2 separate regions of the Homo sapiens genome follow, and region 1 is linked to region 2. Evidence: promoter capture Hi-C in human tissues and cell types (Jung and others, 2019). All regions are on one chromosome and are shown on one strand. The core of a region is centred on a gene start or on the middle of the fragment in contact, and the rest is flanking DNA. Distances in the headings are between cores, read along the strand shown.

Region 1 (6,395 bases), core at 2,985-5,484, 69 kb before region 2:
ATAAAAACAACAAAGGAAATAAAACCAAAATTTGGTACATTCAAAAGATTAACAAAATTAAATAAAACAAAGAGTATTTATGTAGACTTACCTCTCATAAAAGAGAAGACTCCCATTATTAAAATCAGATATGAAAGACTACACATTACTACACACTATACAGAAATACAAAATATTACAGTACATTGCTAGGAGCAAATGCATACCAACAAATCATATAACTCAATAAAATGAGCAAATCTCTCAAAAGACACTAACTATGATATGCAATTGACAGAAACTGAAAATAGAAATAGACTTAAAATAAAAAATAAAAATATTCAATAAAACCAGAATGATGTTAAATGTCATGAAACTGATAAAAGACAGCTATGAAAAGTCTAAAACTATTATTATGTGTATCAGTGAAATACTACCTAAGATAAAAAACAAGATGAAGAGATCTATTTATCATTTTAGGACAATATTCCATTGTATATTTAAGCTAAGGCAATTAGACAATGACAGAAAATAAGAAACATGCATATTGAAAAAGAAGTTAATACAATTACATATGTCAGTACATGATACAACTTTACATAGAGAATATCTTAATAAATCTAGTATAAAATATTAGATCAAAAACAAATAAATAACCTTGTCAGGATAAAAGATTGATATATAAAAATCAATATATTTACATAATTCTAATTATCCAATATAAAATAATACAATTGCACTGAAAATGCCATAAAATATATTGCACAATATAAATGCCACAAAAAATAATTGCACAACTATGATGGTTAATTTTATGTGTCAACTTGACTGGTTTAAGAGATTACCAAATAGCTAAAAAAAAAAAAAATTATTTCTGGATTTATCTGTGAGAGCATTTCATTTTTCCTCCTCTAAATTTTACTTTAGGTTCAGAAGGTTAAAGTGTCAACTTCTTCATGAGTAAATTTCATGTCACAGGGTTTTTGTGTAAAAATTATTTCATCACCAAGATAGTTAATACAGTACCTGGTAGGTAGTTTTTTGATTCTCATAGATCTCTCATTCTACACTTTCACATATTTCCCATTGCCTATTATTCCTTTCTCTTTGTCCATAGGTACTCAATGTTTAGTTCCCACTTACAACTGAGAATATGTGGTATTTGGTTTTCCTTTCTGGTGGTAATTTGCCTAGGGTAATGAATTCCAGCTGCATCTGTGTTGCTCAAGAGACATGATTTTGTTTTTTTTTCATTGCTGCATAGTATTCCATCATTTATATGTGTACCATATTTTCTTTATCCAGGCCACCATTGTTGGGCATATAGATTGATTCCATGTTTTTGCTATTATGAATAGTACTGTGATGCTGTTGATAAACGTAGGTGTGCATGTGTCTTTCTGGTAGAACAACTTACAGTCCTTTGGGTATATACCCAGTAATGCGATTGATGGGTAAAATGGTAATTCTATTTTAGGTTATTTGAAAAATCTTCAAACTGCTTTCTACAGTGGCTGAACTAATTTACATTCCCACGAACAGTGTATGAGCATCCTCTTTTCTCCCTAATCTTGCCAACACCTGTCATTTTGTGCTTTTTAATGATATTCATTCTGACTAGGGGGGATGGTATCTTATAGTGGTTTTTATGATTTTCTTTTCTCTGATGATTAGTAATGTTGAGTATTTTTTCATATGCTTGTTGGCCATGTGTACTTATTCTTGAGAAGTGTCTGTTCTCTTTTGGCCACTCTTTAGTGGGATTTTTCTTTTTTGCTTGTTAATTTGTTTAAGTTCCTTCTAGATTCTAAACATTAGTCCTTTGTTGGATGCATAGTATTGAAATGTTTTCTCCTATTCTGTAGGTTATCTGTTTATGTTATTGAATGTTTTTCTGTGCACAAGTTCTTTAGTTTAATTAGGTCTCACTTGTCAATTTTTTTTTTGTTACAATTTCCTTTTGGGGTAATTGTCATAAAACTTTGGCCAGGGCTTGTATCCAGGATGGTATTTCTGAGGTTTTCTTCTCATATTTATATAGTCTTAGATTTTACATTTAAGTATTTAATACACCTTGAGTTGATATCTGTATGTGGTGAAAGGAAGAGGTCAAATTTCAGTCTTCTGCATATGACTATACAATTATCACAGCATCATTTATTGAATAGAGGGTTCTTTCTTCATTGCTTGTTATTCCTGACTTCATTAAAAATCAGGTGGCAGTAGGTGTGTGGCTTTATTATTTGGTTCTCTATTCTGTTCCATTGCTCTATGTCTCTGTTTTTGTACTACTACCATGCTGTTTTAGTTACTACAGGCTTTTAATATCCTTTGAAATTAGGTAATTTGATGCCTCTGGCTTTCTTCTTTTAGTTTATGATTTATTTGGCTATTTTGGGGTTTGTATGAATTTTAGGATAGATATTTTTATGATTCTGTGACAAACGTTACAATACTTTAAAAAGAGATTAGTATTTAAATCAGTAGACTGACTAAAGATATCTCTCATGATTGTGGGCAGGTATCATCCAATCCGTTAAGAACCCAAATAGAGCAAAAGGCAGAAGAAGACAAATATTTCTCTTTTCTTTGGCTGGGACATTAATATTATTCTGCCTTCTTTATTTGAGGCTTCTGGATATTGGGCCATTGGACACTAGGGTTTGCACTAGTAAACCCCACTTGTAGCTCCTTAAGTTCTAAGGCCATCATCCTCAGACAAATAATTACACAACTATTTCTCCTAGTTCTAAGGCCTTCAGTCTCAGATTGAATTACAGCATCAGCTTTCCTAAATATAAAGTGTGTAAGTGTATATCATAATATTTCTCAGCCTAAGCAAATTCCTACAATAAAATCCTCCCTCATAGGTGTGTACTAATGTGTGTGTATTCATACATGGCTCTTTTTGTCTGGAGACACCTATTATGAAGATTAACTCATTTTTTTCTAAAATAAGGAAAAGACTAGACATTCATTCTTATTACTTCTATTCAACATTATATTGGAGATTCCAGCCAAAGCAAATAGGAAGTAACACAAAACAAAAATAATCCTTATTAGAAGGTAAGAAATAAGTACACTCTCTTTGTTGACAAAAGGCATGACCTTATGTAAAGAATATCTTAGACTTTCCTAGAAAATATTAGATCAACAACAAAATAAGCACATTTTTAGGACTAACGGTCAACCTTCAAATATTAATTGTATTGTTACATAATTGAACAATACAGAAGAAAATAACATGTTCAAAAATCCTACATAAAATATAATCAAAAATTATTTTAAAAAAACAGGAAAAACATTAAAAGAATTGCAAAACTTAGGCCAGGTGCAGTGGCTCATGCCTGTAGTCCCAGCACTTTGGGAGGCCGAGGCGGGCAGACCATGAGGTCAGAAGTTCGAGACCAGCCTGGCCAACATGGTGAAGCCCCAGCTCTACTAAAGATATAAAAAATTAGCCAGGCGTGGTGGCGTGAGCCTGTAATCCCAGCTACTTGGGAGGCTGAAGCAGGAGAATCACTTGAACCTGGGAGGTGGAGGTTGTAGTGAGCTGAGATGGCACCATTATACTCCAACCTGGGTGACAGAATGAGACTCCATCTCAAAAAAATAAAATAAATTGCGAAACTTAAAACTTAAATTGTAAAAGTTACTAAATATTGAGGAATAAAATTCTTAATGAATAAATAAAATCTCATATTCCTCAATTGAAAATCTTAATTAATAAACAAATTAACCAAAATCCATATTAAATTCCCAGCTGGGTTCTTTACAGAAATAAACATGCTCATTCTAAATTAATATAGATATACAGGAGACCAAAAAATAGCGAGATATATATATATATATACACACATACACATACGTGTGTGTGTGTATATATACTATATATATACACACTATATATATACACACTATATATATATACACACACACAATATATATATATATATATATATATATATATATATATGTATAATTTTTTTGAGACAGAGTCTTGCTCTGTGGCCAGGCTGGAGTGCAGTGGCACAATCTCAATAACCAGTAATATTTTGAAAAATAATTTAGTCCTTGCATTTCCGATTTTCAACCAACAACATATCATCAATAGTTATAAGAGTGTGACACAGGAACACAGATCACCATATAAATAAATGGAACAGATTTTAGAATCCAGAAATCCTTTTACACAGTGGTGACTTAATTTTTGAGAAAGACGTCAAACTATTGAATAGGAAAACAACAATATTTTCCACAAATACTTCTGGGAGACTGATTATCCAAAGGCCAAAAAAACAAGATACACTTTCTCTGACAACACATAAAGAACTAATTTAAAATACATCAACAACCCAAAGTTAACAAACAGAAGTACAAAACCCAGAATAGAAAAAGTAAATCTTTTCTATCTTCAATTTGGCAATGGTTTCTAGGACAAGGCAACAAAGTCACAAAAAACTAAGTTAAAATGGATAAACTGATATTCTTATAAATGAATATGTTTGTTCTTGAAAGGACACCATCAAAAAAGTGTACTGATGATAAGTAGAATTTAAAAAGTTCTAATTCATATATCTGATAAGAAACGTTTATTAAGAATATACGGAGCAAGAGACTTCTGGTTCCAAAATGGCAGAGTAGAGACAAGCAGCCTTTTTTTCTTCATGCAAAACAAAACAAAACAAACATATGGCACTGAGATCTACACCACAACAACCAAAAGCTTAATTAAGAGGATAACACATTTCCCAGTGTCATAAAAGTAGAAAAAGTCTGAGTAGACACTACGTAGGGGAATTATATGTCTATGTCTACATTAATAATGCCCCTAACTTGCAACTCTGCTCTGCACCAAAAACGCAGAATATCTATCTCCAATTCATGATTTACAATATGATTTGGATCTGTGTCCCCACCCAAATCTCATTTTCAGTTGTAATCACCAGTGTTGGAGATGGGTTTTCTGGGAGGTGATTGGATCATCAGGTGGATCTTTCATGAATGATTCAGCACTATCCCTTTGGTGCTGTTCTTGTAACAGCATTCTCAAGAGATCTGTTTGTTTAAAAGTGTGTAGCACCTCCTACAACTCCCTTCCTCTTGCTCTGGCCATATGAGGTGTTGACTGCCCTTTTGCCTTCCACTATGATTGCAAGCTTCCTGAGGCCTCCTGAGAGGTAGAAGCCACTATGCTTCCTGTATAGCATACAGAATGTGAGGCAATTAAGCCTCTTTACTTTATAAATTACTCAATGTCAAGTAATTTTTATATAAATGAGAGAAAGACAAACTGATATGGTCACTAAGCTTCCCCATCTTATCAAGTTCCCTGGTAGACCTGTCTTTCCTTAACCCAGTGGAAATGTTATGAGTGCATGAAGGGAGAAACATTCCTGAGGACAGGCAGAGACAAAAAAGAGAGGCAGGACTACCAACCTCTTAGACATGGAAACTCTTCTCCGTAACTCAGCCAAAAATTGACCTCAAATCAGAGTAGTTGCTTAGCAACAGCATGCTGTAGGATGTAAGTTCTTTAGGTATACTGGGAACAAGCCCTTAGGCAGTGTTCTCACACTTCCAGGATAATCCATTTGGAACCCCCATCACTTGGGACAGGCAGAGCTCTAATCATTCACATGAGCTGAGGTAAACCTGGGCTTAACATGTCACCTAGAACTAAAGTGAATGCAGTGACTTTTCGGTAAAGATTTTCTAAGCAAATATATTCCATTAAAAAAAGACAGAAAAAAAATGGAACAAATAATCCTTCAATGCAAAGGCATGCATATATTCACAAGAAACAACAGAGAACAGGGAACCAGGACCTCTCCAAAAGGACAATGCAAAAATCTAGTGATTGACACTAATAAGATAACCCAATTTCTGAGCTCTCTGACCCAGAATACAAAATAGCAGTTTTAAGAAAACTTAGTAATGTCTAAGTTAACACAGGAAGTTATTTCAGAAATTTATCCGAGAAATTTAACAAAAAGGTTAAAATAATACAAAGAAATCAATCAGAAATCTTGGAACTAAGAAATGCATTTGCTGAATTCAAAATCCATTAGAGGTCTTAAACCACAGAATGATCCAAGCCCAGAAAAGAATCTGTGAGCTCTAAGACTCGTTATTTTATTTTTAAAAAGTCAAGAGAGAATAAAAAAGCAAGTGCCACCTACAAAATATAGAAAATTACTTCAAAAGACCCAGTCTAAGAATTATTGGTGTTCAAGAGAGATGTGAGTAAGAGCAAGGGTAGAACGCTCATTCAAAAAAATAGTAACAAAAAACTTTTCAAAACTTGAGAAACATAAAATGTCCAGGTACAGAAAGGTCTTAGAACACAATGCAAACCCAAATAAGACTACCCCAATTAACAAAATAATCAAAGTCACAAAGGACAAAAAAAAATA
Region 2 (6,678 bases), core at 2,174-4,673:
GGCCTGCAGGGTAAAGGCAAGCATTGGAAACTGTTTTTTTCTTTTACTTTCCTCATCACAACTGTTAAAGACTTTGAAGGCTAAATTAAGAAGGTCCCACTGTGGGGTTTGAGGGCCGTCATCAACCTTCTGAAGCTTGCGCCAAATATCATGGTAGATTGGGTGAGGAACTGAAGGTTTGAAATAGTGGTTCCTTCTGGGCTGGCTGGGTCCAGGTTGGTAATTTTCTCATGGCTTCAGTTAAACAAGAGAGAAAAAGGGCTGGGTTTTTGTCAGGACCTTCGGTGATTTCTGAAAGTTTTTCATAGTTTACCACTTTATGGGCACCCTTTTTGAGTCCTGCAAGGAGACACATAATCATGAGGTCTTGATGGCTGTGTCCAGAGGCCCTGTCTTGATAATCCCAGTGGGGGTCCTGGTTGGGAACTGCCTCTGTGCCAGTAGGCTGGGCAGGAGCTTGATGATGAATTGTATTAGCATGCACCTGAGCTAGGGTCCAAGTACGGTGCTGGTCTTCTGGGGTGAGGGTGGAAGAGAAGATAAGTAGCTGTCATGCCAGGTTAGTTCATAAGACTGAGTAAGGTACTGAATCTCCCTAATATAAGAGGTAGGATCTTCTGGAAATGAACTGAGTCTTTTGTTAGTTTGAGAGAGATCAGTGAGGGAGAAGGGAACATGAACTCTAACAATACCTTCAGTTCCTGCTACTTCCCGAAGGGGGCATTCTAGCACTGGCGCTAAAGTACGGGTGGGGCATGGGCCAAAGATGGTGCCGGAGCTAGTATGGGCAGGAGAGAAGGAAGAAGCCAGAAGGGGTTCCTGCTGAGGGTTTGAAGAGGGAAGGGGGGTTGAGTTGATAGGCATTGGAGGATAGATACGGGTGTAAGGTGGCGGGATGGGTTTACAGGCTCCGTGAGAGGGCTGTAAGGAAGGAGAATGAGTACAGGCAATGCTAGAGTTTTCCTGAGGAGAGGATGGTATAGGAAAAGAAGTGGGTGATGCTGGCTGGGAAGATGGTGGCTGGGAAGATGGTGGCTGAGAAGACAATGAGGAAGCTTGGGGAGTTAATGAAGTTGGTTGAGATGGAGGGGTAGGGTCTGGGAGGGGTGGACAGCAGTCTGCTCCATCCAATGAGGAAAAAGAGGTAGGGTCGGGAGGATAAAGGCAATGAGGGCGGCGAGAATGAAGAAGGATTTGAACAGGTAAGCAAGAATTGCAGAGGTCGGGCTGTGATCTGAGTGCAAAAAGGCCTGGACACAAGGAATTTCTCCCCATTTTCCCAGTCATCTGCAATAACTGCTTAAGTCAGTTAAAACTGTAAAGCTGAGTGTTCCATTTGCGGGCCATTTGGACCCGTTATCTAATTCATACTGCGACCAGGCTTTATCGTATAAAAAAGACAAGGCACTTATGGCAGATATCTTGCCTGAGGCCTAAGGTTTGCAGATTTTTAATGAGGCAGGCTGGAGGGCTGTTTTTTGGAATTGAGGACCGGGAGTTTCCCATAATGAAGGGTAGCTCGAGAGAACAGGGAAAAAGGAGACCATCCTGGACAGCTGGAGGGAGACGATAAAAGGAGTTATCGTCTCCGCTGCCTTTTTGGTTCCTGGAACGGGATGAAATGGCTTAGAGGCATCCCCCTAAGACCAGATGACCAGCGAGTGCCTGGCGCACGCTGGCGCCTTCTTGGATCAGTGTTGGATTTTTGGACTGGAGAAACCAAGAGAGGCCATGTAGATTTTGCCCTGTTAACCGGGCTCCAAGGGAAACTTACCAGTAGGCGAGATCAGTGGCTGATGCGCATGCACAGAGAGGCGACTGGAGGCTGAGGAGCTTCCTCTGTCTAATTGCTGTGGCCTGCTCTCTGGGGTGGAGGGATAGGTCCACAAGCGACACAGACCTGAGCCCCTCCTAGGATTTGGCACCAGATGTAAGGTTCTTGAATCAGTTTGAACCCCAACAGCGCGCCAACAGACAACAGGAGGCGGTGTGGAGCAACATGCTGTTTTAATGAACGCCTGGTTGCAGGTGGGCTGAGGCCTAAAATGGCATCAGCCCCAAGTGAGGATGGGACAGGGGTTTTGTAGTCCTCTGTAAACAGTAAGTGTCCCAGTCTGTTGTGACTGCTATGTAGTACCTGGATGGCCTATTTCTTGATCTTCAGGGGTACATCTCTTCCAGCCAGGGTAAGTGTCTTCTGGCCGGCTCTCTTCCTGCTTCTGCTATCTTGCTGACACACGCTGCTGATGCAAGTGGTCTTGCATCTTGGGGCTGGGCCTGAGAAGGGAGGAGTTACTCATCCCTTCAAGCCTTCAGGTCCTGAGGAGAATCTTTGAACCCCCTGCATCACTGGCCACCCTCCTGATAGATCCCTGTGATGCCAGGCAGGAATGAGCCGCTTGGGTATCCAGAGAGCTCCCAGTGCCTTTCTGCTACTTCCTCTACCCCTGTATTTTGCTTGGCTTGGTTCTCTAATTTGACTCAGCTTCACATAAAGTCAGGAACTTCTCCTGCAAACAGAACTTCAGCTTCTCCAGTGGGGATGTGTATTCTGGAGAGGGGGATCACCCTTTCCCACTTCCATTGTTGGGGCACTCACAGTGTTTGGGATGTCTCCCAGGTCCTGCAGGAGCAGTACTCTTCCTGCAGAGGGTGTGTGGATCCTCTCAGAATTGCTGGTCTGTTCTTGCAGTTGATCTGCAGCTAAAATTCACAATGCAAGCCTCTGCATGCTGCTCTGTCTGGAGCTGCAATCTAGTCCTGCATCCCATCTGCCATGATCACTGGAAAACCCTCATTTATTTTTTAAAGGGTCCAGAAAATGCTAATCTATAGAGATAGAAATTAGATTAGTGGTTGCCTAGGGTAGGATGGATGCAAAATTTCAGAGTGGGGGGTTAGAGGCTATTGTATAGAATCTTTTGGAGATAATACTGATTATTGTAGTGGATGTAAAATTCTGTGAATATACTAGGAAACATTGAACTGTACACACTAATTGGTGAGTCATATGGTATATGAATTATGTGTCAACAAAGTTTTAGAAGACATTACTTGCACCACGATATTAAAAAATGCCGTTTGAGTTGTATAATTACTTCTTCTCTCTATGTCAAGGGCACCGAACAGGCAGGAGCCTCTCACTTGCCACTGTTCTTAACAGTATTATAAAATAATTACATAAGACAGGTTACTTACATATTCTAGGTCATAAAAATTATTGCTTGACTAGAGTAATTGTAAACATAAAAGAACACCAAACACACTAAAATAAATATGAGGTCATCAATCTTTTGTTGGTCTCCTTGGCATGCACCTATTCAGACTGTTAGTATTATGTATTTACTTCAAATTTTAGCAGTTATATTTTAACTTGATTGATTTTTCCTCAGATATAAGTATGAGAAATGACAGAAAGAAACAACAACTGGAAAAGAAGCATTGCATAAGACCAGGATGTCTCTGAAATGGACGTCAGTCTTTCTGCTGATACAGCTCAGTTGTTACTTTAGCTCTGGAAGCTGTGGAAAGGTGCTAGTGTGGCCCACAGAATACAGCCATTGGATAAATATGAAGACAATCCTGGAAGAGCTTGTTCAGAGGGGTCATGAGGTGACTGTGTTGACATCTTCGGCTTCTACTCTTGTCAATGCCAGTAAATCATCTGCTATTAAATTAGAAGTTTATCCTACATCTTTAACTAAAAATTATTTGGAAGATTCTCTTCTGAAAATTCTCGATAGATGGATATATGGTGTTTCAAAAAATACATTTTGGTCATATTTTTCACAATTACAAGAATTGTGTTGGGAATATTATGACTACAGTAACAAGCTCTGTAAAGATGCAGTTTTGAATAAGAAACTTATGATGAAACTACAAGAGTCAAAGTTTGATGTCATTCTGGCAGATGCCCTTAATCCCTGTGGTGAGCTACTGGCTGAACTATTTAACATACCCTTTCTGTACAGTCTTCGATTCTCTGTTGGCTACACATTTGAGAAGAATGGTGGAGGATTTCTGTTCCCTCCTTCCTATGTACCTGTTGTTATGTCAGAATTAAGTGATCAAATGATTTTCATGGAGAGGATAAAAAATATGATACATATGCTTTATTTTGACTTTTGGTTTCAAATTTATGATCTGAAGAAGTGGGACCAGTTTTATAGTGAAGTTCTAGGTAAGTCATGTGTCTAACTGGTGCTTATTAAGTTCTAACTTTTCTGTGCCTTTGAAGGTGAGCTTATATAAATATAATGTCAGAAGATAGTGTTTTTAAGGGAAATTATGAATTGCAAATGTAAGATGATCTATCAGTCTCAAAAATATTATAGAATGTTGACCTTATAGAATCAGTTAGAACCCTGGGGCCATCACTACTACAGGACACCCAGAGAGTCATAAACCTTCATTGTAAAGCACTAATGATTTCTTTAAACTATCACATATCATTTTGCTATACATTTTTTCATCTTTAAAAAAAGTCAATAGATACCTCAAGAAACATCTTCATGAAGGCAGACACATAAATTTAGTATTTACACATATTTCTAGAAAAATTATCAATGCAGGATTGAGGAATTTGTTTCTCTTTGAGTTCCTCAGTTTCCTCATTTAGAAATTAAATTTTGTTTTTCATGTAAGAAGGATTCCTTCACAGTTGAGTAATATAGTGGCTCTACTCCAGAAACAGAAGCCTAAAACTTGAGATTTCTAATGTTTATACATTCCTTCAATAACAGGTTGACAATTATTTCTTTCAAAAACTGAAATCTTGTTGAAAGTGAACATCTAAGTTTTAATCTATATTTTATTAAACTGCATCTCTCCATCAAAGAAAATAGGGGCCAAATTAAGGGAGAGCACATATCTCTATGTCAATAAATTCTGAAAATGTTTTAATTCTCATTTGTAAATATATTTATTTTAAAAATCTAATTATATTAAGATCTTAAGATGAACCAAGACAGTAGTAGGTGTAAAGATTTCAGTGTTGAGCTCAAAAAACTCATGGTTTACTTTGAGAACCAAGGATCAAGGGACTAGCTTAATAAACTGTAGACACTAGAGTACTTCCTGGAAAGCTGTTTTCATGGGTAAGGTAAGATGAATTAATTGTGGAACTGAAAGAGTTGTTTAAAGGTATATTTGTTACTATTGCAGCTTCAGAGGGAAGACAAATGTGTATTTAAGTTCATAGTGGCTACATTAGTCCATTCTCACACTGCTGTAAAGAAATACCTGAGACTGGGTAATTTATAAAGAAAAGAAGTTTAATAGACTCAGTTCTACATGACTGGGATGCCTCAAGAAACTTAGAATCATGGTGAAAGGCTAAGGGGAAGCAAGCTTGGATCTTCTCACTTAGTGGCAGGAGAGAGAAGTGCAAGCAGGGGAAATACTAGACACTTATAAAACTATCAGATCTCATGAGAGCTCACTCAATATCATGAGAACAGCATGGAGGAATCCACACCATGATCCAATCACCTGCCACTGGGTCCCTCCCTGGACACATGGGGATTATGGGGATTATAATTCAAGATGAGAGGAGATTTGGGTGGGGACAGTCAAACCATATTAGTGACTTATTTTAATAATTATTTATGATTGTGAATATACTGATGTTACATTAAAGATGTGATTTCTTCTTACAGATCTCTGAATACATTGCCTTCCTTATATATACATATGAGCAACATATGCAATAAATAAAATCTAAATTATGACTATATATAAATGTATTTATATATATTTTATCAATGCACAGACATTTTATATATGTTTGGGTATGTTATTCCAAGTCCTTTCAGGAAAATACCTGCATATTCAAATAACAATTCTCGTGTTAGCTACCTTTTGTTTTGTTTTGTTTTTTTCCATCAGGAAGACCCACTACATTATTTGAGACAATGGGGAAAGCTGAAATGTGGCTCATTCGAACCTATTGGGATTTTGAATTTCCTCGCCCATTCTTACCAAATGTTGATTTTGTTGGAGGACTTCACTGTAAACCAGCCAAACCCCTGCCTAAGGTAAATGTATTCTTGTTTCATTTGTTTGCTTGACATTTTCAGAAGGAATGGCTGGATATGTTTCTTTCAGAGTGTTTAACTCAGAGTGAGGGGAATATGGGAGGTCAAAAACAAGGACTTGCCATTAGAAAATCATATATTTCTGTAGTATCACAAGTATGTGAATGTTATTATCATTAAAGACCAAAGAGGTTTACTAGGGAGATTTTGAAAACAGGGTTGGTTAAAGTAAGGCCTTCATTGTGCCACCCAAAAGATAGTATGATTCATTTCTTCAAAAAATATTTGTAGAGTGATTAATACAAACCACAGGTAAGTGCTGGATTTTCAGAGAATAAAGGTAGCACAGTTTCTGCTCCCTCATGCCTTACATTGTACTTTGAAAGATAGAATAAAAACAAGTGAAAAAGAAAAGTCTAAAAAGTGTTATAAGGAAAGACCACAATGATAAAGAAATATGCAGAAGAGATCCCAAACTCATTGACAATTAAAGTGAGTACTCAATAATGTGCAGAGATAGGTGAAACGATGAGGGGTTGATAAACACCCAAAAAGAAAACCAGAGGCCAGGCAAGGTGGCTCACACCTATAATCCCTGCACTTTGGGAGGCAGAGAAGGCATGATTGCTTGGGCTCAGGAGTT

Evidence for each region. Contacts are between HindIII fragments. The study calls those that stand out against the background at their distance.
Region 1: a contact is called between a fragment that was not itself captured here and the fragment with the promoter of UGT2B15 in region 2, in 4 of the 25 tissues and cell types used here (adrenal gland, dorsolateral prefrontal cortex, heart left ventricle and 1 more).

The regions. Positions count from the first base shown.
Region 1 is chr4:68,737,344-68,743,738 of GRCh38, reverse strand. No RefSeq gene overlaps it. Among named protein-coding and RNA genes, the nearest start is that of UGT2B15, 70 kb to the right of the region's middle. The HindIII fragment of the contact is 5,251 bases long and covers 1,609-6,395 here.
Region 2 is chr4:68,667,397-68,674,074 of GRCh38, reverse strand. It overlaps UGT2B15 (UDP glucuronosyltransferase family 2 member B15), which reads left to right and starts at 3,423. Exons shown (of 6, transcript NM_001076.4): 1 at 3,423-4,180; 2 at 5,887-6,035. The coding sequence starts at 3,457. The HindIII fragment of the contact is 11,998 bases long and covers 596-6,678 here.